7 separate regions of the Homo sapiens genome follow, and regions 1, 3, 4, 5, 6 and 7 are each linked to region 2. The links are contacts of gene promoters, found by promoter capture Hi-C in blood cells and fetal thymus (Javierre and others, 2016). All regions are on one chromosome and are shown on one strand. The core of a region is centred on a gene start or on the middle of the fragment in contact, and the rest is flanking DNA. Distances in the headings are between cores, read along the strand shown. Region 1 has its middle 3.3 kb from the start of TAT-AS1. Region 2 holds the start of PSMD7 (proteasome 26S subunit, non-ATPase 7). Region 3 overlaps ZNF19 (zinc finger protein 19). Region 4 holds the start of ZNF23 (zinc finger protein 23). Region 5 holds the start of MARVELD3 (MARVEL domain containing 3). Region 6 has its middle 20 kb from the start of SYCE1L. Region 7 holds the start of MON1B (MON1 vesicular trafficking associated B).

Region 1 (2,700 bases), core at 127-2,626, 2.7 Mb after region 2:
GTTCCAGCTACTCAGGAGGCTGAGGCAGGAGAATTGCTTGAACCCAGGAGGCAGAGGCTGTAGTGAGCCAAGATCGTGCCACTGCACTCCAGCCTGGGTGACAGAGCAAGACTCCATCTCCAAATAAAGAAAGAAACAAAGAAAGAAAAGAAAAGCTTATATTTAACTTCATACTCAATGGTGAAAGACTAAAATCTCTTTTTCTAAGATCAGGAAAAAAGCATGGATGCCCACTTTCACCACTTTGATTCAACATAGTATTGGAAGTAGTGGCCAGAGCAATAAGACAAGAAAAAGAAATAAAAGGCATTGTGTTGCAGGAAGTCAGGGACCCCAAATGGAGGGACCAGCTGGAGCTGAGGCAGAAGAACATAAATTATGAGGATTTCATGGACATTTATCAATTCCCAAAATTAATACTTTTAAAGTTTCTTACGCCTGTCTTTACTGCAATCTTTGAACATAAATTGTGAAGATTTCATGGACATTTATCACTTCCCTAATAATACTCTTATAATTTCTTATGTCTGTCTTTACTTTAATCTCTTAATCCTGTTATCTTTGTAAGCTGAGAATGTACGTCACCTCAGGACCACTATTGTACAAATTGATTGTAGAACATGTGTGTTTGAACAATATGAAATCTGATTGTAAAACAGGTGTGTTTGAACAATATGAAATCAGTGCACCCTGAAAAAGAACAGAATAACAGTGATTTTCAGGGAACAAGGGAAGATAACCATAGGGTCTCACTGCCTGCGGGGTCAGGCAGAATACAGCCATATTTTTCTTCTCACAGAAAGCCTATAGACGGATGTGTGAGTAGGAGAAATACTGCTGAATTCTTTTCCCAGCAAGGAGTAACCCTGGGGAAGGAATTCATTCCTGGGGGTAGGTCTATAGACGGCCGCTCTGGGAGTGTCTGTCTTACGCCGTTAAGATAAGGACTGAAATACGCCCTGGTCTCCTGCAGTACCCTCAGGCTTTGGGAAATTCCAGCCTGGTAAATTCTAGTCAGACCAGTTCTCTGCTCTTGAACCGTGTTTCCTGTTAAGATGTTTATCAAGACAATGTGTGCACAGTGGGACATAGACCCTCATCAGTAATTCTAATTTTGCCTTGCCTTGTGATCTTTATTGCCCTTTGAAGCATGTGATCCTTGTGACCTACTCCCTGTTTGTACACCCCCTCCCCTTTTAAAATCCCTAATAAAAACTTGCTGGTTTTGCGGCTCGGGGTCATCATCACGGTCCTACCAATATGTGATGTCACCCCCAGAGGCCCAGCTGTAAAATTCCTCTCTTTGTACTATTTCTCTTTATTTCTCAGACCAGCCGACACTTAGGGAAAATAGAAAGAACCATGTTGAAATATTGGGGGCTGGTTCCCCCAGTAGCATTCAAATTGGAAAGGAAGAAGTAAAATTATCTTTGTTCACAGATGACATGATCTTATATGTAGAAAACCTTAAAAGATTCCACAAAAACTCTGTTAGAACTAATAACCAAATTCAGCAAAATTGTAGAATACAAAATTGATATGCAAAAGTCAGTTGCTTTTCTATACACTAACAATGAACAATCCAAAAAGAAAATTAAGAAAACAGTTCCACTTACAACAGCATCGAAAAGAATAAAATACTTAGGAATAAACCTAAGCAAGGAGGTAAATTATTTGTACAATCAGCTGGGCATGGTGGCTCATGCCTGTAATCCCAGCACTTTGGGAGGACAAGGTGGGTGGATCACGAGGTCAGGCATTCGGGACCAGCCTGATGAACATGGTGAATACCCATCTCTACTAAAAATACAAAAATTAGCTGGGCATGGTGGTGCACACCTGTAATCCTAGCTACTCAAGAGTCTGAGGCAGGAGAATTGCTTGAACCCATGAGGTGGAGGCTGCAGTGAGCTGCAATCATGCCACTGCACTCCAGCCTGGGTGAGAGAGCAAGACTCTGTCTCAGAAAAAAAATAAAAAGATTTGTACAATCAAAACTACAAAACATTGCTGTAAGAAACTAAAGGAGACACAAATAAATGAGAAGGCGTCCCATTCTCATGGATTGCAGTACTTAATGCTGTGAAGATATTCATGCTGCCCCAAGTGATCAATAGATTTCAACACAATCCATATCAAAATCCCAATAGCATTTTTTTTCAAAATAGAAAAAAATCACCCTAAAATTCACACAAAATCTCAAGGGACCCTGAATAACCAAAAAAAATTTTGAAAAGGAAGAATAAAGTTGAAGGAGTCACACTTTCTGATTTCAAAAGATATTACGAAACCACAGTAATCAGAACAGTGTGGTACTGGCATAAAAACAGATAAATGGGCCAATGAAATAGAATAGCCAAGAAATAAACCCTTGTATATATGGTCAAATGATCTTTGACAAGGGTGCCAAGATGACTGAATGGGGAAAGAAAAGTGTCTTCAACAAATGGTTTTGGGAAAACTAGATATCCACATGCAAAGGAAACTGGGCCCTTATATTACACCATATATAAAAATTAACTCAAAATAGACTAAAGACCTAAATGTAATACCCCAAACTATAAAACTCCTAGAAGAAAACATGGGAGGAAAGCTTCATGATACTGGATTTGGCAATGATTTCTTGGATATGACACCAAAAGCATAGGCAACAAAAGGAAAAATGGAACTTAAAAACCTTTGTGCATCAAAGAACATAAT
Region 2 (2,700 bases), core at 1-2,500:
GTCTCAGCCTCCCAAAATGCTGGGATTACAGGCGTGAGCCACCATGCTCGGCCTCGTGTTTTAAATAAAAACTGAAACCTCATCTATATATACATTTTTTTTTTTGAGACGGAGTCTAATCAGATTCCCATTTAAAAATGTTAATGGGTTAAAACCACAGCTGATCCAGGAAGCCCTTCGGGGTGCTGAGCATCATCCAGATTTCGATAACAGGAACTCGGTCAAATGAAGACAAACATAGATACGACCCTGGGGGCGGGGGTCAGGGCCAAATTGAAGCTAGCCCCCTTAGCCCCACTCCGGCATCATCCAGGCATCATTCACTTTGCATCATTCACATTTCGGTGAAATCAACTTGGTTAAACGAGGATAAACATAAATACGACCCTGGGGCCGGGGTCAGGGCCAAATGAAGGTAGCCACCCTGCACCCCACTCCAGCATCATCCATATTTCGGTGAAACCAATTCGGTCAAACGAAGATAAACATAGCCTTGGGGCGGGGCTAAATGGAGCTAGCCCACTCCGCCCCACCCAAGCATCATCCAGACATCAGTCACTTTGCATTATTCACATTTCAGTGAAATCAACTGAGTCAAATGAAGATACGACCCTGGGGTCGGGGGTCAGAGCCAAATGAAGCTAGCCCGCCTCCGCCCCACCCTGGCTTTATCCAGATTTCGGCAAAACGAACTTCAAAACGAAGTGACAGACACGAGCTTGGGGGCGGGGGTCAGGGCCAACTAAAGCTAGCCGCATCTCCCGACCCCCAGCATCATCCAGATTTCGGTAAAACGAACTTCGGCAAAACGAACTCGGAAAGGGAACTCTGTAAAACAAACAGGCTAAACGGAACAGGCAGCCAAGGCCCCGAAGTGGCGGCGGCTGGGGCAGGGGCGGGAGGCTGGATGACTCCGGCATCGTGAGCCGACGCTGGTCTGGACTCGTGAACAAGTAAGGGTCACCAGCCGCCCTATCTGCGTCCCCAGCTCGTCCGCGGCCGCCGCGCCATCTCCAGCGTGCCCGTGACTCAGCAGCGGCTGCGCCGCCGGCCCAGCTATAGGGCGCTCGCTCACCGGTTGAAATGATCCACCACACTGAGCAGCACCAGGGGGTGGACCACCACCTTCTGCACTGCCAGCTCCGGCATCGCGACACACCCCGCTCGCCAGGCCTGGCTCCCTGCCACACGCAAACACCGGCAGCAGTAGCGGTCACCGGTACCCTTTCAGGCCCAGTTCCTCTTCTTCCGGTTCGTCAGCCCTCGCGCGGCCTCCTTCTTCCGCTCCCAGAGTGCCTCGCGCGGCGGGCCCGGATCTTCGCCACCGCCGTCATTTGTGGGCGGAGAAAGGGCTGGAGAAAGGCGGGAATCGCCCCTCGTCCCTCGCCGTGCGTTTCCCTGGACTTAAGGGCCGAAGGGACACCGGCGACTTGACCTCCTGGTATTGGCCTGTACCGTCACCTGCAGAGGCTTTTCGCCTCAATTCCTTCCCAGCACCCTCCCCCCGCCACCCCCCCAAAGTAAATAGTTGACAGTTTACTTTTCTACCACCCGGAAGAAGTTCACTTTTGCTTCAGGTCAAAATCCTCCGCGATTTCTGAGAGGAACTTTAAATCTCTAACATAAGAGCACGCTTTTAATGTAATTTGGTAATTTATCTCATTCTCGTTTTCATTGCCGGGGGAATTTCTCCTTTATCTTTACTGTGGACACTTTGCAATGAACGTGGCAACCTGCAGGTTTCCACCTGTCGTTATATTACTGCGTAACTAGGGCTAGAAGAACGCAATTGTGCCGTTGCTTTTGAAATCAAAATTTACAGAAGCGTTGAAGAAAAGACGGAAGGAAGGCAGTAAGGAAGTATGTTGTGATATGTAGCTAGGAAAGAGAAGACTAAGGTAGACAAAGACTTAAGCTTATTTGCAGGAGGCAAATTATAAGAAAAATCATACAGGTTTATATCGTCTCATTTGAAGTTGCTGTTTCTGTAAACGAAAACAGTACTTAAGCAACCTGAATTATTTACTTATATTTTGTTCTGTTTTTAAACAATTTTTGCTTTCCCTTTATCACCAGAGGATTTTCCCAACATTTTGGCCTCTTGTCTTTTTAAGGTGGACTTCCTGATCTCCAAATGTCAAGGGACACACTCAGTCTCTCTTATTTGTGGGTGGTGAAAAACATTAGCAAAGATTAGACTGAAATTTGGCCACCAATGAGAGACATTAATGTAGTCAGGAGTTTGAATTTGTCTGCATGTGAATTTATCTTTGTCTTCTGTCTGCAACTTGGCTTTATTTTCAGATTTTCTGCTAGATCTGCAAGGAAGTAAATGGCAGGATATGCTTAATATTCATAATTAATTGAAGAGACTCAATGCTATCTTTATTTTTTCATTTTTTTTTTTGGTACAGTTGGTGTCTCACTATGTTGTCCAAGCTGGTCTTAAACCCCCAGCCTCAAGCAATCCTCCCACCTCAGCCTCCCAAACTGCTGGGATTACAGGTGTGAGCTACTGTGCCTGGCCATTCATTCTTAATTATAACTAGAAAGATATAAGGGTTATGTTAATGGGGAAAGAAAACTAAGAATTATTGAATCTATTGAGTGCCTATAATATGCCAGCCCTGGTTCAGACGCAAATATTTAATCCTTTTAATTAATGCTTCTCAAACTTTGATATGCTTACAAATCACCAGG
Region 3 (2,700 bases), core at 42-2,541, 2.8 Mb after region 2:
CATCATAGCCTTGAGCCAGTCACATAATTGCTTTGCATCTTAACTGGATTCATTTGTAAGGTGAACATAAGTACCTTACATTTTTGGGACAGAGAATTGATTTCTTGAATTACATTTCACTTTTTGAGACGGAGTTGCTGCTTTGTCATTTCTTTTCTCCTGGCACTTATTTATCCAGTAACTTAGTATCCATGAACCATATCCCAAATCATAATCTCATATTTCTCACATCCTTCAGTTTTCTCTACCTGACTGTGTCACTGATATATCAGCTTCCTTGGAGCTCCCACCCTCTTCTGGTTTTTCCACAAGTGTCTGACATCACACTATATTGCAGTCCTGATCACTCAGTTTCTAAATTGCTGTGTAATTGTTGACTATGTTCTCCCCTGATACCATTTCCAGAGAGACACAAAGTCTTGTTGTTTTTCCTTCTCTCTCTGCCACTTGTGCCATCTTTCAGATTACATTTAGAGTTTGTTGTTCCTTCTCTGGAATTTTGTTTGCAGCGCTTCCCGGATAGATTCTCTGTGTATAGTTGTGCACCTTTCCATCACTTTGTCACCTAATACAGCTCAGTTTCCTGAGTTTGGATTTTATCCTCCAATCCAGGGTTCTCAGACTTCAGTGTACATCAGAATTACCTGGAGGGCTCACTGAAGTATGGACTTCTCTCAGAGTGGGGCCCAAGAATTTGCCTAACAAATTCCCAAGTGTTGCATCCGCTACTGGTGGTGGTCTGGAGACCACACTCTGAATACCACTGCTCTAGTTAGTGGTGATTCATTCAAGAGGTTCATTCAGGAGTTGATGAAGTCAGGTTGTCAGCTGGGCAGAGGATAGATTCAGTGTGGGACAAGACTGGAAGTAGAGCTAAAGTGTCCCCAGCTGTTGACCTAGTTTACTGATTGTACCACAGTGAAGAAGAGTCAGATTCCAGAAATAACGTAGGTAATAAAATTGGCAGGACTTGAGTATTAACTGTCAGCAATGAGTGATGATGGGGGTTAGAATGTCTAGGATTAATCTGAAGTTCTAGCATTAGAGACTGGGTTGAAATTGGTGTTATCAACAGAGAGGGAAAAATATTGTCACACTGCCACTTAGTTTATATAAATTAGAAAGGAAGCCATTTTGGGGAAGATGAGTTTGGGGTTGCTTGGTGAGTCAGTGTGTTGGGTCATCCAGAGAGTCTGAGGCAGTGCTGGGATGAGGGGGATGTGGATATGTGCAAAATCAGTTGAGGCATTGGAAGGTCGGAGTGTATTCCCTGAGCACTCCGGTAACGAAGTTCAATACCAACATCTGAGGAGTGAATAGAGGCTCTAAACCAGATGCCAGAACTTTGTGGAAAGGTAGAGTTGAGGCCAGCAGGGAGGGAGAAGGGTGTCTGTTGAAAAAGCATGAGGGGCTGGGCATGGTGGCTCATTCCCGTAATCCCAGCACTTTGGGAGGCCGAGGCAGACGGATCTCTTGAGTCCAGGAGTTTGAGACCAGCCTGGGGAACGTGGCAAAACCTTGTCTCTACAGAAAATACAAAGATTAGCCTGGCATGGTGGTGTGCACCTATAGTCCCAGCTACTCAAGAGTCTGAGGCGGGAGGATCACCTGAGCTGGGAGGTCGAGGCTGCAGTGAGCTGAGATTGTGCCACTGCACTCCAACCTGGGTGACAGAGCAAGACACTGTCAAAAACAGAAAAAAAAGAGAAAAAGAACCAAAACCGAAAGAAAGAAAGAAAAAAAAACCCAAGAAGCATGAGGCTTGGTTGGCAGAAGCTATTACAGATTGTCTTGGAGCTATAAAGATAAGGAGCTAAAAGAGCTACCCAGCAGCAGCAATTTAATTCTAGAAGCATGGTTTTCTAGGAAAAGCCATCAAGGAGCAGAGTGGATTGTGCCAGGAGACTCTGAGCTCCCTCTACAGGATGCTCTTGAGCACAGGCAGCCCAGTCCTTTATACAAGAATCGAATGGGAGTCGGATGAGATAGGCCCATCAGTGCAAACCATGACTCTGTGCTTGTTTCATGGGCATAAGGTTTGGGGCAGGGTGAACACATGTGGGGAACAGATAGATTGGCTGAGAATAGGGAGTACCTAATAGGAATAGGTGGGTCCTGAGATACCATTTGAAGCAAATTGTCCACCTGTAGGTACAAAAGTAAAAGACTGAAAATATTTACTAAATCAAAGAGATTTTTGCCCTAGGAAGGTTAACTAATAAGAGACTTTTTTTCCTAGGGTTTAAAAAATGTTAAATCACATTTTATGACAGTCAATTTTATATCCTAATGGAATCTCTTCTGGTAGTGAGAGAAGTTCCAGATTTTTCGTTGTAAAAATAGTCATATAATGGTCTAATATCCAGTTCTGTCACATTTTCTCATTACCTATCCCTCACAGGACTTTCCCTCAAGTCCCTACCTGTCCCCTCTGCCCCACACTCTGGCCCGGAGCCAGAGGATTGGCTCTGGGGCAGCAGGAACCTGTTGTTTTAGGAGATGGTGACCTTCGAGGATGTGGCTGTGCACTTCACCAAGACAGAATGGACTGGCCTTTCTCCTGCCCAGAGGGCCCTGTACAGAAGTGTGATGTTGGAGAATTTTGGGAACCTGACTGCTTTGGGTAAGGCCATTTTCCTCCTAGGACTCAGATCTGTACTTTTCCAGTTTCCTTCCTTCTTTTACAGCCTGGGGGGAGGA
Region 4 (2,756 bases), core at 94-2,593, 2.8 Mb after region 2:
AGCCACCAGAGAAGACAGACATATAAATAAACTATCACCATTAAGTAAGTACACAGTGCTGTGATGGCACATAAATGAGTGTCCTGCCTTATTCTGGGTGATGAGGGAAGGCTTGCTTCCCATGCAAAATGGGATTTGAGCTCACACTTCCAGTAACAGTCAAGATGGAGGGTAGGAATGGGAAGGGAAGGGCATTCTAGATTTAGAGAACAGCATTTTTAGCATGTAGGGCTGAGGTAGAGTCAGGGAATGAATGGGAGTGATAAGAAGCCACAGAGGCAAGTGGGAGCCAAATACCAGTCTCCAGTGCAGCAGCGTTGGATGGATCAGAGCTGGAAGGAAGAAAAGCCCACATTACCAGGGTTAGGGGGTGTGTGAGGGGGTGGGGATTTTAAGGGTCGTCCAATCCAGTGGCATTTAGTACTGTCTCCCTTCCCCCAGGGCTCATTTTGGAATTTTATGGTAGGTATTTTGTTATATTTGGTGTCAGTGGTAACATTGCTACTAGCGTTGTGGATAGGAGCCAGGATCCTGCAATGTACAGGACAGTCCTGCCCACTGAAAAAATGTTCACACTTTCAAATGTCTTGCTGAACATTCAGGTAGGTGAAAATTCTATTTCTAAATTATCTGAATCTAAACCTGTTTTCTGGATAAACATGTATTTTTGCACAGTTTTAACATACACTGATCTTCCAGGAATGTAATTATTGTATAATCAAGAGACGATTGTCCTGTGTTTCATTCAGAACTTCACGAAAACATGTTTGCCATTTTGGATCATAATTTTGTGACTTTTGCAACAATGTAAGTCACAGCTTTGTGGCTGTGGCACTCAGACAACGTCTATGTGTAAAGGCGACCACCTTATTAGGTCTCCTGCAGCAGCCAAGACCAAACACATTGAAGTATGTGTTTTTAAACGACAGATGACGGTCCTCTTTTTTTTCTCTTTCATTACACTTAAGGCATAACATTAGTTTTTAATATGTAGGTGTGTATGTTATGTATGATTTTCTAGGCCATTATATATGAATATCAGGTCAGGAGAATAAGATGGACATTACAAACTATTTGTTAGAAAAAGGGGGCATTGGGTGTGACAGCGCGCCATCCACTGGTCCATTTCCAAGACTCCCACACGTGGCTGCACCTGCAGCTTCACCTCCCCGGGCTGGGTCCCCGCTTGGCTCTGATTCTTACCTGCCCCATTCCCCAGGGGTAACAGTCACCGTGGGCCAGACCCGAGCTAGCCGACAGGGATGCGGCCACAGCTGGCCGGGCGTGACCACCACCGAGGCGCAGCGACCTTGCTCCTAGAGAGGCCCGGCCGCCTGGTGACGCACTTCCGGCAGCGCCGGGGAGCAGTCCGCTACGGAGGTGAGTGCAGGGCTCCGGGCGCTGTGTGCCGTGCCCTGTCCCCCAGGCTCTGGGTCCGGTTGAGACGCACTCCCACCCTGGGTGCTGCAGGGTCTCCCGTGGCCTACGCTGCCAGGAGGCCCAGGCTGGGAGAGGGAGCAGGGCGGCGGCCCGGGGTGCTCTTCCGCGCTCCTCGACTCCAGCTTTGGTCTTTGTGGCTCAATAGCTTGCGCCCATTGGAAGGGGAAACGCACGTTGCTGTCCCAGCCACGAGGCCCTGAGCATTTAGCACTTGGTCGACGGGGGAAGATGTGTCGGTGCAGCTAAAAGATGGAATATTTGCGGGCGTGAAGCGGCCCGAGGTGATACCACAAGTCTTTTGACATGCTGAGGTCTGGCAGGAACATTAACCTATGTGCATCCCGAGTATGGACCGTGTGCTCCCAGGCTCCTGACATAGGGTCATGAATTAGGGCCGAGTGGGAGCGCAGAGCCCCTCCCAGTCACCCGGCAGCAGAAGCAGCCCGGCTTTTGGAGGACATTGTCTCCTGGAGCAGTGTCAGTCCCAAAAGGTAACTCAGCCCTGCTTCTCTCGGCTCAGGGTTGACAGTGACCTGGGAATGACTTCTACAACGTAATTACGAATTCACTCAGTTTTAGAATATATTTAGTAGTCTCAGAATCGCTAATTCATACCCCCATGAAAAGCAAATTTACTACCTAAAGTACAGTACTTGGATACAGGTCTTTTTGTCTTTACTCTTATGGTATTTAGTCAAAATACTGTTTTCCAAAGTTGCTTACCCCTTTTCTTTCCTACCACTTAAGTGTGGTTATGTTCACTGTAGTATAGTTAAGCACATTGGCTGTTCTTTGTATTACATTTTGGGTCCTCAATTTCACCCCATCCTTGCTGGTTTATATATTTATTTAAAATATATATTTATATGTTACATATATAGTAGTAAACATCCATGAACACACCACCCAATTAAGAAAGAGAAGATTGCCAGTACTGCTGAATTTATCAATGTGTTCCTCCTCCTCAACCCAACTCCCAGCCTCCAACCCCTAGAGGTAACAGTTATATTGACTTTTGTGTTAATTGTAGCCCTGTTATTTTAAAAAATAATTACATATGCATGTATCTGTAAGCAATGTACTTAAATTTTTTTTTTGAGCTTCATATAAATGGCACCATTGTGTGTATAAGTCATCTGGGACTCGCATAATTCAATGTTAAGTTTCCAAATTCATTCTGTGTGTAGCTTCTGGGTAATGTTCCATTGTAAAAACTGTATGAAAATTTATCGATGTATTTTCAATGGACATGTGGGTTGTTTTCAGTGTTTTGTTATTAAAATGTGCTGATAATATTTTTGTACGTACTTCCTACA
Region 5 (2,714 bases), core at 176-2,675, 2.7 Mb after region 2:
CAAAAGGGAAAACAAACCTGTACCCTTCAGTGGGAGAATTTTACGTAGACTTTGTTCTTTGGTTAAAAATGTAGCGTCTCCCATCTGACTTTTTTTTTTTTTTTTGAGACGGAGTCTCGCTTTGTCGCCCAGGCTGGAGTGCAGTGGTGCGATCTCGGCTCACTGCAACCTCCGCCTCCCGGGTTCAAGCGATTCTCCCTCCTCAGCCTCCCAAGTAGCTGGGATTACAGGCATCTGCCATCACGCCTGGCTAAGTTTTTGTATTTTTAGTAAAGACGGGGTTTCACCATGTTGGCCAGGCTGGTCTCGAACTCCTGGCCTCAGGTGATCCGCCCGCCTCGGCCTCCCAAAGTGTTGGGATTACAGGCATGAGCCACCGCGCCGGCCCACCTGTTTCTGAAGGCACCTATTCCTGGGAGGGGTAACACATTAAACTATTAACTCTTCATCGGGCTTCCCAAGTGGGCGGCCCGGCCACAAGGAAGGGGACTTTGGAGTCGGGAAGGGCTGGCTCTGGAACACGGGACAAGGGTCTGAACCCCAAGGCGCAGTCCTGTGACCATGCGGGCCGGGCCGGGGAGGAGCCTGGGGTGAACCCCACCCGCCTGGTCTCCTCCCACCCCTCCCTCTCGGGTCCCGGGGCCTCTCTTTCTCTTCTCCAGGTCCTCCAGCCCAGCCACTGCTCACAGGGGTGGTTTTTGCTTTGTTAGTTGGGTTCAGGCCACGAGAAGGGGGAACCCTAAAGTTTTCCTTCCCTGCCAGGTCGCCTCTGAGAGCGCAGAAGGGAGAAACGGCATTTGTTCATTTAAACGGGCTCCTAGGACGAGAACCCGGGGACGCCAGGGCCTCGCGGGCCGGCCTGGGCCACAGGTGTCCCCGGCGCGGAGGTCGCAGCGCCCCGGCCCCTCTCACCTTTCGGGTCTGCGGCGCCCGGGGTCTCCCTTCCTCTGCGGCTGCGGCGGCTCCGGGGCTTCCCAGGGCGCGGGCCCAGGAGGCGCGGCTGCGTCCCAGGTCAGTCCCCGGGCTCCGTCCCGCGTCCGGCTTTGGCGCGGTTTTTCCCAAACTCCGTGTTCACCTGCGCGAGGGCCCGCGTCCCTGTGTGTGTCCCGGCGGGGGCCTCGGTCCGGGTCTCTTTCCCTCTCTCTCTCCCTCTCCCGGTCCCGGTTCCGGTCGCGGTTCCCGTCCCTCTCCTGGTCTCTCTCCGGGTCCCGGTCCCCGTCCCTTCGCCGGTTCCCGTCGCTGCTTCGCTTCCTGCGCGGGTCCCCGGGTCGGTCCCGCGGTCGATCGTGGGTGCGGCCTTGGTCTGGGTGGGGGCGCCGTCCCGGGTCCCGCTCTCTCGGCCGGGCCCGGGGCTCGCGAGCCCCCGACGGATCTTCCATGGCCGGGTTCCGTGTCCCCGCCCGGGAGCGACCTGAGGGCAACAACCAACAAGTTTCTTGGGCAGGTGGCCAAGCCCGGGGGCGGGGCGGGCACTCACCTGTGCGCATGCGCGCTAGTCCGGGAGCTCACCTGAGAACGGGCGCCCTCAGGGGGCGGCCTGAGCGCGTCTGGGGCCCGGGCGGGAGGGGTGCCTGTGTGCTGGGTGGGGGCTGGGGTGCTGCTGCTGGAAACCCGGGCGGGGCGACCCACAGCCGCACCTTTCTGCCCCGAAGTAACCCCTTGGTGACCCCACGAGGTGGGCGGCCTAAGGGAGCCAACTGTGGCCACCTCCCCTGGCTCAACTTACACTGCAACTTGGATTTACCTTCCCAGAGGTACCCATCCTCTCACTCACTCAGCCAGACACTCATTCATTCACCCAATCACCCACTACCCGCTCATCCATTCACCCACCCATCCACCCACTCACCCACCCATCCACCCACTCACCCACCCATCCACCATCCATCCACCCATCCACCCACTCACCCACCCGTCCAACCATCCACCCATTCAACCACTCACCCATCCATACACCCGTCTATCCACCTATCCACCTACTCACCTACCCATCTAACCATCCACCCATCCATCCATCTATCCACCCACTCACCCACCCATCCACCACCCATCTACCCGCCCACTCACCTGCCCATCCGCCCACCCACCCACCCTCCATCCATCCATCCACCCATCCACCCACTCACCCACCCATCCACCCACCCATCTACCATCCGCCCACTCACCCACTCACCTGCCCATCCATCCACCCACTCACCTAACCATCCACTCTCACCCACCCATCCACCATCCATCCACCCACCCATTCACTCATCCACCCATCCACCCACCCACTCACCCACCCATCTACCAACTCACCCATCCATCCACCCATTCATCCACCCACTCACCCATCCAGCCACCCACCCACGCATCCACCCATCCACCATTCATCCACTCACCCATTCATCCATCCATCTGGCCACTAACCTACCCACACATCCACCCAGTCACCCACCTTCCACTTCTCCCTCCACCCATCCACTGTCCCTCTTTCTCCCTTCTCCTGTTTTCCTTATAACACCTATGTTGTAAGGGGCTTGCAGCCAGTTCATCTATCACAATAGTCCTGGGCTTACAAATAGCCCTGTTTTTTAAAATGGGGACTTACACAAAATTGGCAGCTTTTAATTCTGCCAAGTAAGGATATTACAAAATATATACAATTGCCATCTGGTAATTAATTCTTTCAGCAAATATGTATGAGCACCTGCTTTAGCAGGTACTGGAGATAT
Region 6 (2,700 bases), core at 197-2,696, 2.9 Mb before region 2:
ACCCCAAGGACCACTGCAGTAAGGACAGAGAGGCAGGGCTGTGCAGGCCAGAGACATCCCCAAAGGGCCTTCAAAAGCCAAGAAGTTCACATCCTTTGGAAGACAGTAAATTCTCTGACTATTCTGATATTGATCATCTGGACACTTCTTATACTGAATAGTATCTGAAAAACAAAGCAATGGTTTTTTGTTCAAGATTCATAAATCCTTACTGATTCCCAGAAACAAAAAAGTCATTTTTGGCCTTGTAGGGCACCTTGTCCATCTCAGTGCTATACTCAAATGTCATGCTTTTTAGCATGTTACAGAAGCAATAATTTCAAACTAACATGCCAATTCTCTCCTTGGTTTTATTTCCCAAAATAACATTTTCTCTCATTGTTCATTTCTCCACATGCCAACGAATTATTTTCCATTTTCTTTCATAATGAAAGCATTATACTCCCTTAAAAATTTAAATATCCATTCTCTAGGCCAAGAGTCCACAAACTATAGCCTACAGGTCAAATCTAGCCATTAGTAATTTTATAGGGCTTATAATCTATGAATGTTTTAATACTTTTAGATGGTTGCATTTTAAATGGTTATACAAGTATTTACATACTTTCAATTTCACCTCTTGGCTTGCAAAGTCTAAAATATTTACTATTTGGCCCGCTAAGAAAAACATTTCCTGACCTCTGCCTTCTCCTGGATTATTTACACAAATGACAATTATTTTCTAAGAATTTACACTGAACCAGATGCCTTATTAAGAATGGGGACCTGTTCAACTTTTAACAGGTATCAAAGAGGCCCTCAGGTTCTAATAGCTAAATATTTCTTAGTGTATCCCTTCCACATTTCGAGGTAGAATTCCATCAGCTTGATGTGGCAGGAAAGGTCTTAATCATCTTGTTTGTACATAGGTTTCTGGCCTTATCTTTTGTCATAAACTAAACACTGGATCAAAAGATTCTGATGTAGAGATTTATGTATCATACTCACAGTGCTCATGCCTTCTCGCTTTGCCATGACCTTCTTCAACAGGGAGTTTCTTTTGCTCTCTTCTTTGCTTGACTAATTCCTACTTGCCTTTAACAACGTAGTCAACATTACCTGCATTAGGATGTGCCTGCATGCCTCCCCACACTCTAGTATGTACCTGTGTCTTTGAACCCTTTGTCCTGGGTTGCCTTCCTCATTAGGCTATGAATTATCAATGACAGTATAGTTTTATTAAACAAACCCTGAAAAATTAGATACCTAAATAGACAGTCAAGTAAAGAAACATACGAAGAAAAATATTCCTAAAAATACATTTATTGTCCGGGCGTGGTGGCTCACGCCTGTAATTCCAGCACTTTGGGAGGCTGAGGTGGGTGGATCACCTGAGGTCAGGAGTTCAAGACCAGCCTGGCCAACATGGTGAAACCCCATCTCTACTAAAAATACAAAAAATTAGCTGGGCATGGTGGCAGGTGCCTGTAATCCCAGCAATTCGGGAGGCTGAGGCAGGAGAATTGCTTGAACCCAGGAGGCAGAGGTTGCAGTGAGCCGAGATAGTGCCACTGCACTCCAACCTGGGCAACAGAGTGAGACTCAGTCTCAAAAAAAAAAAATTACTGTAGCAACATTATTATCAGGTAAAATAGAATTCAAAGAGATATACAGAGGAGAAGAACACATAAAATAAAAATTAGGCCAGGTGCGGTGACTAACGCCTGTAATCCCCGCACTTTGGGAGGCCAAGGCAGGCGGATCACCTGAGGTCGGGAGTTGGAGAACAGCCCGACTAACATGGAGAAACCCTATCTCTTCTAAAAATACAAAATTAGCTGGGCATGGTGATGCATGCCTGTAATCCCAGCTACCCAGGAGGCTGAGGCAGGAGAATTGCTTGAACCCGGGAGGCGGAGGTTGTGGTCAACTGAGATCACACCATTGCGCTCCAGCCTAGGCAACAAGAGTGAAACGCTATCTCAAAAAAAAAAAAAAAAAAAACTAAACAGATAAAACAGACTCTTTTCTCCTTTAGAAGGCTCAATATAATGATACTAATTTCCTGCATGTTAATGTATATATTTCATTCAATACAAATATCAAATAATAATAGGGGTTTTTTGTTGTTGTTGCTGCTGTTTAATTTTTTTTGAAACAGAGTCTCACACTGCCACAAGGCTAGAGTGCAGTGGCGTGATCTCTGCTCACTGCAACCTCCGCCTCCTGGGTTCAAGTGATTCTCCTGCCTCAGCCTCCCTAGTAGCTGGGACTACAGGCTTGTGCCACCACATCCAGCTAATTTTTTGTATTTTTAGTAGAGACAGGGTTTCACCATGTTAGTCAGGATGGTCTTGATTTCCTGACCTCATAGTCTGCCTGCCTCTGCCCACCAAAGTGCTGGGATTACAGCTGTGAGCCACTGCGCCCAGTCAGGTTTTTTGTTTTTTTGTTTTTTTTTTTTTTTTGGAAATAGACAATATGATTCTAGAGTATGCATAGGAAAGAAACTACCCTTGAAAAATTCTGAAACAGTAGGAAAATATAGAGGAGGTCTCACCAAGTGAGTTTCATAATATTATTTAAGGGTATAATAATAAAAAGTTTGGTATTTGTGTATAAATAGGTAACTAGATAAAGGAATAGAATAAACAGTTCAGAAATTGACCAAAATAGACATGATTATTTGGTATATGGCGAGGATGGCATTGCAGTTGGGGG
Region 7 (2,739 bases), core at 144-2,643, 2.9 Mb before region 2:
CATAATATCCACTAACACACAAGACTTTAATGACTTCCATTGCCCCTACCCATGACCATCATTAACATTCACTAAAACCCACAACTTCAACAGCCCCTACTGACACATCCATTTATTCCCATTGATTTCCATTCATCCCCCAATGACAACCATTATTATCCATGTGCAACTATGTCTCAATAATTTTCCCATAAAATCCCAATAATTGCATATTCTGTCACTGACATTCACTGACACTCCCATGTCCCCAAATATCTTTACTCCCTCCTAATAACTGCTCTTACCTGCTATTAATTCCCAAGTCCTCAACCTCCCCATCCACATTTATTCTCAGTGAGGTCCACTGATCCTTCCCAATGACTCCATTTACATCCACTAATTCCAAAGTGATCAATGGCACAGACTTCTCAGTGACTTCCATTAAATCTCAAATGAACAACTTTACACATCCACTAACATTTGGTCCCTTAAAGACTTCCCCAACAGTCTACAAGTGACTTCAATGATGTAAATACTCTGAGTGCCCATCGAACTCCACTGATTCCCCTTCCCACTTCTATTATTTAATAAATAACACCCTACTCCTCAAAAACACTAACTTCTCAACAGTCCTCCTCTGTTGAGTCTATTGACTTTCTTCAGCGCATTCTTTGATCTAAACACTCTAAATCCTCAGTGACCCTCTTTGGTCCTAACAGCCCCCTTTTTGATTCCTCAATGACCTAAACTCACACCAAACCCCCAGTGAACATCCGTTGACAGCCAATGACTTCCTCAATGATGTAAACTACACCATGTGTCCACAGTGACCTCCTCCTGACCCGGCGATGGTTTAAGCCACTTCTCTTAAGTCCCAAGACTCCCTACTGGTCACCCACTGACCCTTCCCCCGTCCAACAATGACAACCCCTAAGGATTCCTTTTAAGACCCCACTAAGTGGAGTCATACCTGTTTCCTCCAGGCCCTCGTCTTCGGGATCCGGCGGGACCGCGTGAACCCCTCCACCTTCTCTAGCTTCCTCACTGGGGAACTGCGTGTCCTCCAAGTCCTCCGCGCCCCCGGGGGCCGGGGCAGCAGTGTCTCCTCCGACCTCCATCTGCACATCCCTGAGTGGGAGGGGAATCGAGGGTGACGGGCGGTGAAAGAAACTTCTGAAAAGCCTTTATAGAGTCAGGCCCCCTTGGACACACTCCTACTGCTCATTTCCCCACGGATTTCAATAGGACGAGACATCCAAAATCATGCCCAAATACGTCCCCCCTCCAACACTTTCCGAAAAGAGGAGACTCTACTGGGCCTCAGGAAATAGAGATATACAAACACCTGTTTTAACTCCGAATCTCAATTGGCCGGATACCATTACTTCCCCGTAGCGGCGGTGGCATCACACTTCCGGGTGCGGCCCGGGAGGTGCCACACTTCCGGGTACGACCCCTCCCAGAAGACACTTCCGGTTGCGGAGCTTTATTGGCTCCTCGCGGCGTCCCTCTCCCGCCGCCTACGGGTGTCCCCTCATAGTTGAGATGGCGCGGGCCACTTCGGATCTACGTCAGGTCTGTTCGGGAGCGCAATGAGACCTCTCTGCACTCCTTTCAACGGATCTGGCTACGGCTGCTAACCCGGGAGAGCGAGGCCCACTTCGCTTACCAGTGGTTGGCGTGAGGGGGGACGCGGCTCGCTCTAGCCAATCCCGGAGTACATAGGGCGCGACCGTCTTCTTTCTGGGCCAATCGAGATGAGCCGCCTCATTTCCCCGCTGTCTACTCCCCCCGCCAAATCCTAACCAATACTGTGCGTTGTGTTGCGTTTGCACACGCCCATCCATTGATTGACGTCTCCCTCGACCCAATCGAAGACTCGAGCCTATTCCTTGTTTCACAAGAGGACTTTTGCAGCGTCAGTCCCGATGGATACCTGTGCCGGACCCACAAACGGGCTCTCCCAGAACTGAGGCAACTCCACTTTCTCTTATCCCTTAACCCTGCCAAGAAAGTCAAGGGAGGGGAGAGGCGCGAATGCTTGACGGGCAGTCGCCGCTTCTAATCAGCGTGCCGCGCCAGCAGCTCCGTACCCTGCCGGGTTCCCACGTCTACCTGCAGCTGGGGGAAGAACTCTGCCAGCCCAGGGCAGGGGCGGGCACTCACTTGGACCAGGACCTGCCCGACGCCCCCGGTCCGCCGGGCGAACGGGTCGTCACTTTCTGTGATCAGTTTGGGAAAAGGCTTGGGGGCCCTGCCACGGGCCAGTGTGGGAACCCAGGGTTCGAATTCCCGCCCCGACGCTGCTTCCGGACCGAAAGCCCCCTGAACGCCTTGCCCCAAGTGCCCTGGGCCTTGGTTTCTCCATCAGTGAAACAATGATGGGAATCGCTTGACGTGAAGTGAGTGGAGGTGCTGGCACACTTCGAGTGATTGCTAAGGGGAAGCCTTTGGTACTAGTTAGGATAATTATTTTAATTACAGTATAGTTAGGGTAATGAATTCCAAATACCAGTGTAGCATCATGTGCTTTATATACAATAGGTAATCGATAAGTAATAAATATTAAATTTATATAACAGAAACAATGGATAAATTTATGTGCATACAAAATATATTTACCTAATACATTTAGAAGTATATAATATATAATAAACATGTAAAAAAGTACAATAAAATAACATCTCATAAGCAAACTTATTTATTAATCTCGCTGTGTTACCCAGGCTGGAGTGCAATGGCAAAATGTTATTGACTCAT

The links. The method cuts DNA at HindIII sites, captures the fragments that hold promoters and counts their contacts. A CHiCAGO score of 5 or more calls a contact.
Region 1: a fragment that was not itself captured here is called in contact with the fragment with the promoter of PSMD7 in region 2 in 1 of 17 cell types (fetal thymus); the score reaches 7.0 in fetal thymus.
Region 3: a fragment that was not itself captured here is called in contact with the fragment with the promoter of PSMD7 in region 2 in 7 of 17 cell types (M1 macrophages, naive CD4 T cells, non-activated CD4 T cells and 4 more); the score reaches 10.0 in M1 macrophages.
Region 4: the fragment with the promoter of ZNF23 here is called in contact with the fragment with the promoter of PSMD7 in region 2 in 1 of 17 cell types (activated CD4 T cells); the score reaches 6.4 in activated CD4 T cells.
Region 5: a contact is called between the fragment with the promoter of MARVELD3 here and the fragment with the promoter of PSMD7 in region 2, in 1 of 17 cell types (M0 macrophages). The highest score is 6.0, in M0 macrophages.
Region 6: a fragment that was not itself captured here is called in contact with the fragment with the promoter of PSMD7 in region 2 in 1 of 17 cell types (total CD8 T cells); the score reaches 5.3 in total CD8 T cells.
Region 7: the fragment with the promoter of MON1B here is called in contact with the fragment with the promoter of PSMD7 in region 2 in 4 of 17 cell types (neutrophils, naive CD8 T cells, activated CD4 T cells and 1 more); the score reaches 8.6 in neutrophils.

What each region holds. Positions count from the first base shown.
Region 1 is chr16:71,560,336-71,563,035 of GRCh38, reverse strand. No RefSeq gene overlaps it. Among named protein-coding and RNA genes, the nearest start is that of TAT-AS1, 3.3 kb to the left of the region's middle. RefSeq lists an enhancer at 795-1,296. The HindIII fragment of the contact is 2,438 bases long and covers 158-2,595 here.
Region 2 is chr16:74,295,364-74,298,063 of GRCh38, reverse strand. PSMD7 (proteasome 26S subunit, non-ATPase 7) reads right to left here and starts at 1,250. Exons shown (of 7, transcript NM_002811.5): 1 at 1,076-1,250. The coding sequence starts at 1,149. RefSeq lists enhancers at 236-1,125, 1,026-1,335, 1,126-2,017. The HindIII fragment of the contact is 3,645 bases long and covers 1-1,917 here.
Region 3 is chr16:71,478,802-71,481,501 of GRCh38, reverse strand. It overlaps ZNF19 (zinc finger protein 19), which reads left to right. Exons shown (of 6, transcript NM_006961.4): 4 at 2,497-2,623. Among named protein-coding and RNA genes, the nearest start is that of ZNF19, 9.2 kb to the left of the region's middle. The HindIII fragment of the contact is 7,433 bases long and covers 1-2,700 here.
Region 4 is chr16:71,460,834-71,463,589 of GRCh38, reverse strand. It overlaps ZNF23 (zinc finger protein 23), which reads left to right and starts at 1,343. Exons shown (of 5, transcript NM_001381984.1): 1 at 1,343-1,380. LOC124903709 (a long non-coding RNA gene) reads right to left here and starts at 1,278. Exons shown (of 2, transcript XR_007065105.1): 1 at 298-1,278. RefSeq lists enhancers at 1,225-1,384, 1,655-1,744. The HindIII fragment of the contact is 7,082 bases long and covers 1-2,756 here.
Region 5 is chr16:71,624,895-71,627,608 of GRCh38, reverse strand. It overlaps MARVELD3 (MARVEL domain containing 3), which reads right to left and starts at 1,425. Exons shown (of 3, transcript NM_052858.6): 1 at 913-1,425. The coding sequence starts at 1,379. RefSeq lists a silencer at 555-604. The HindIII fragment of the contact is 6,796 bases long and covers 1-2,714 here.
Region 6 is chr16:77,217,862-77,220,561 of GRCh38, reverse strand. It overlaps the pseudogene VN2R10P. Among named protein-coding and RNA genes, the nearest start is that of SYCE1L, 20 kb to the right of the region's middle. RefSeq lists an enhancer at 1-86. The HindIII fragment of the contact is 3,666 bases long and covers 1-2,700 here.
Region 7 is chr16:77,189,844-77,192,582 of GRCh38, reverse strand. MON1B (MON1 vesicular trafficking associated B) reads right to left here and starts at 1,393. Exons shown (of 6, transcript NM_014940.4): 1 at 1,325-1,393; 2 at 950-1,107. The coding sequence starts at 1,097. It overlaps LOC124903725, which reads left to right and starts at 2,017. Exons shown (of 1, transcript XM_047435021.1): 1 at 2,017-2,675. The coding sequence starts at 2,017. The coding sequence ends at 2,361. RefSeq lists enhancers at 1,242-1,291, 1,312-1,601, 727-1,675. The HindIII fragment of the contact is 24,724 bases long and covers 1-2,739 here.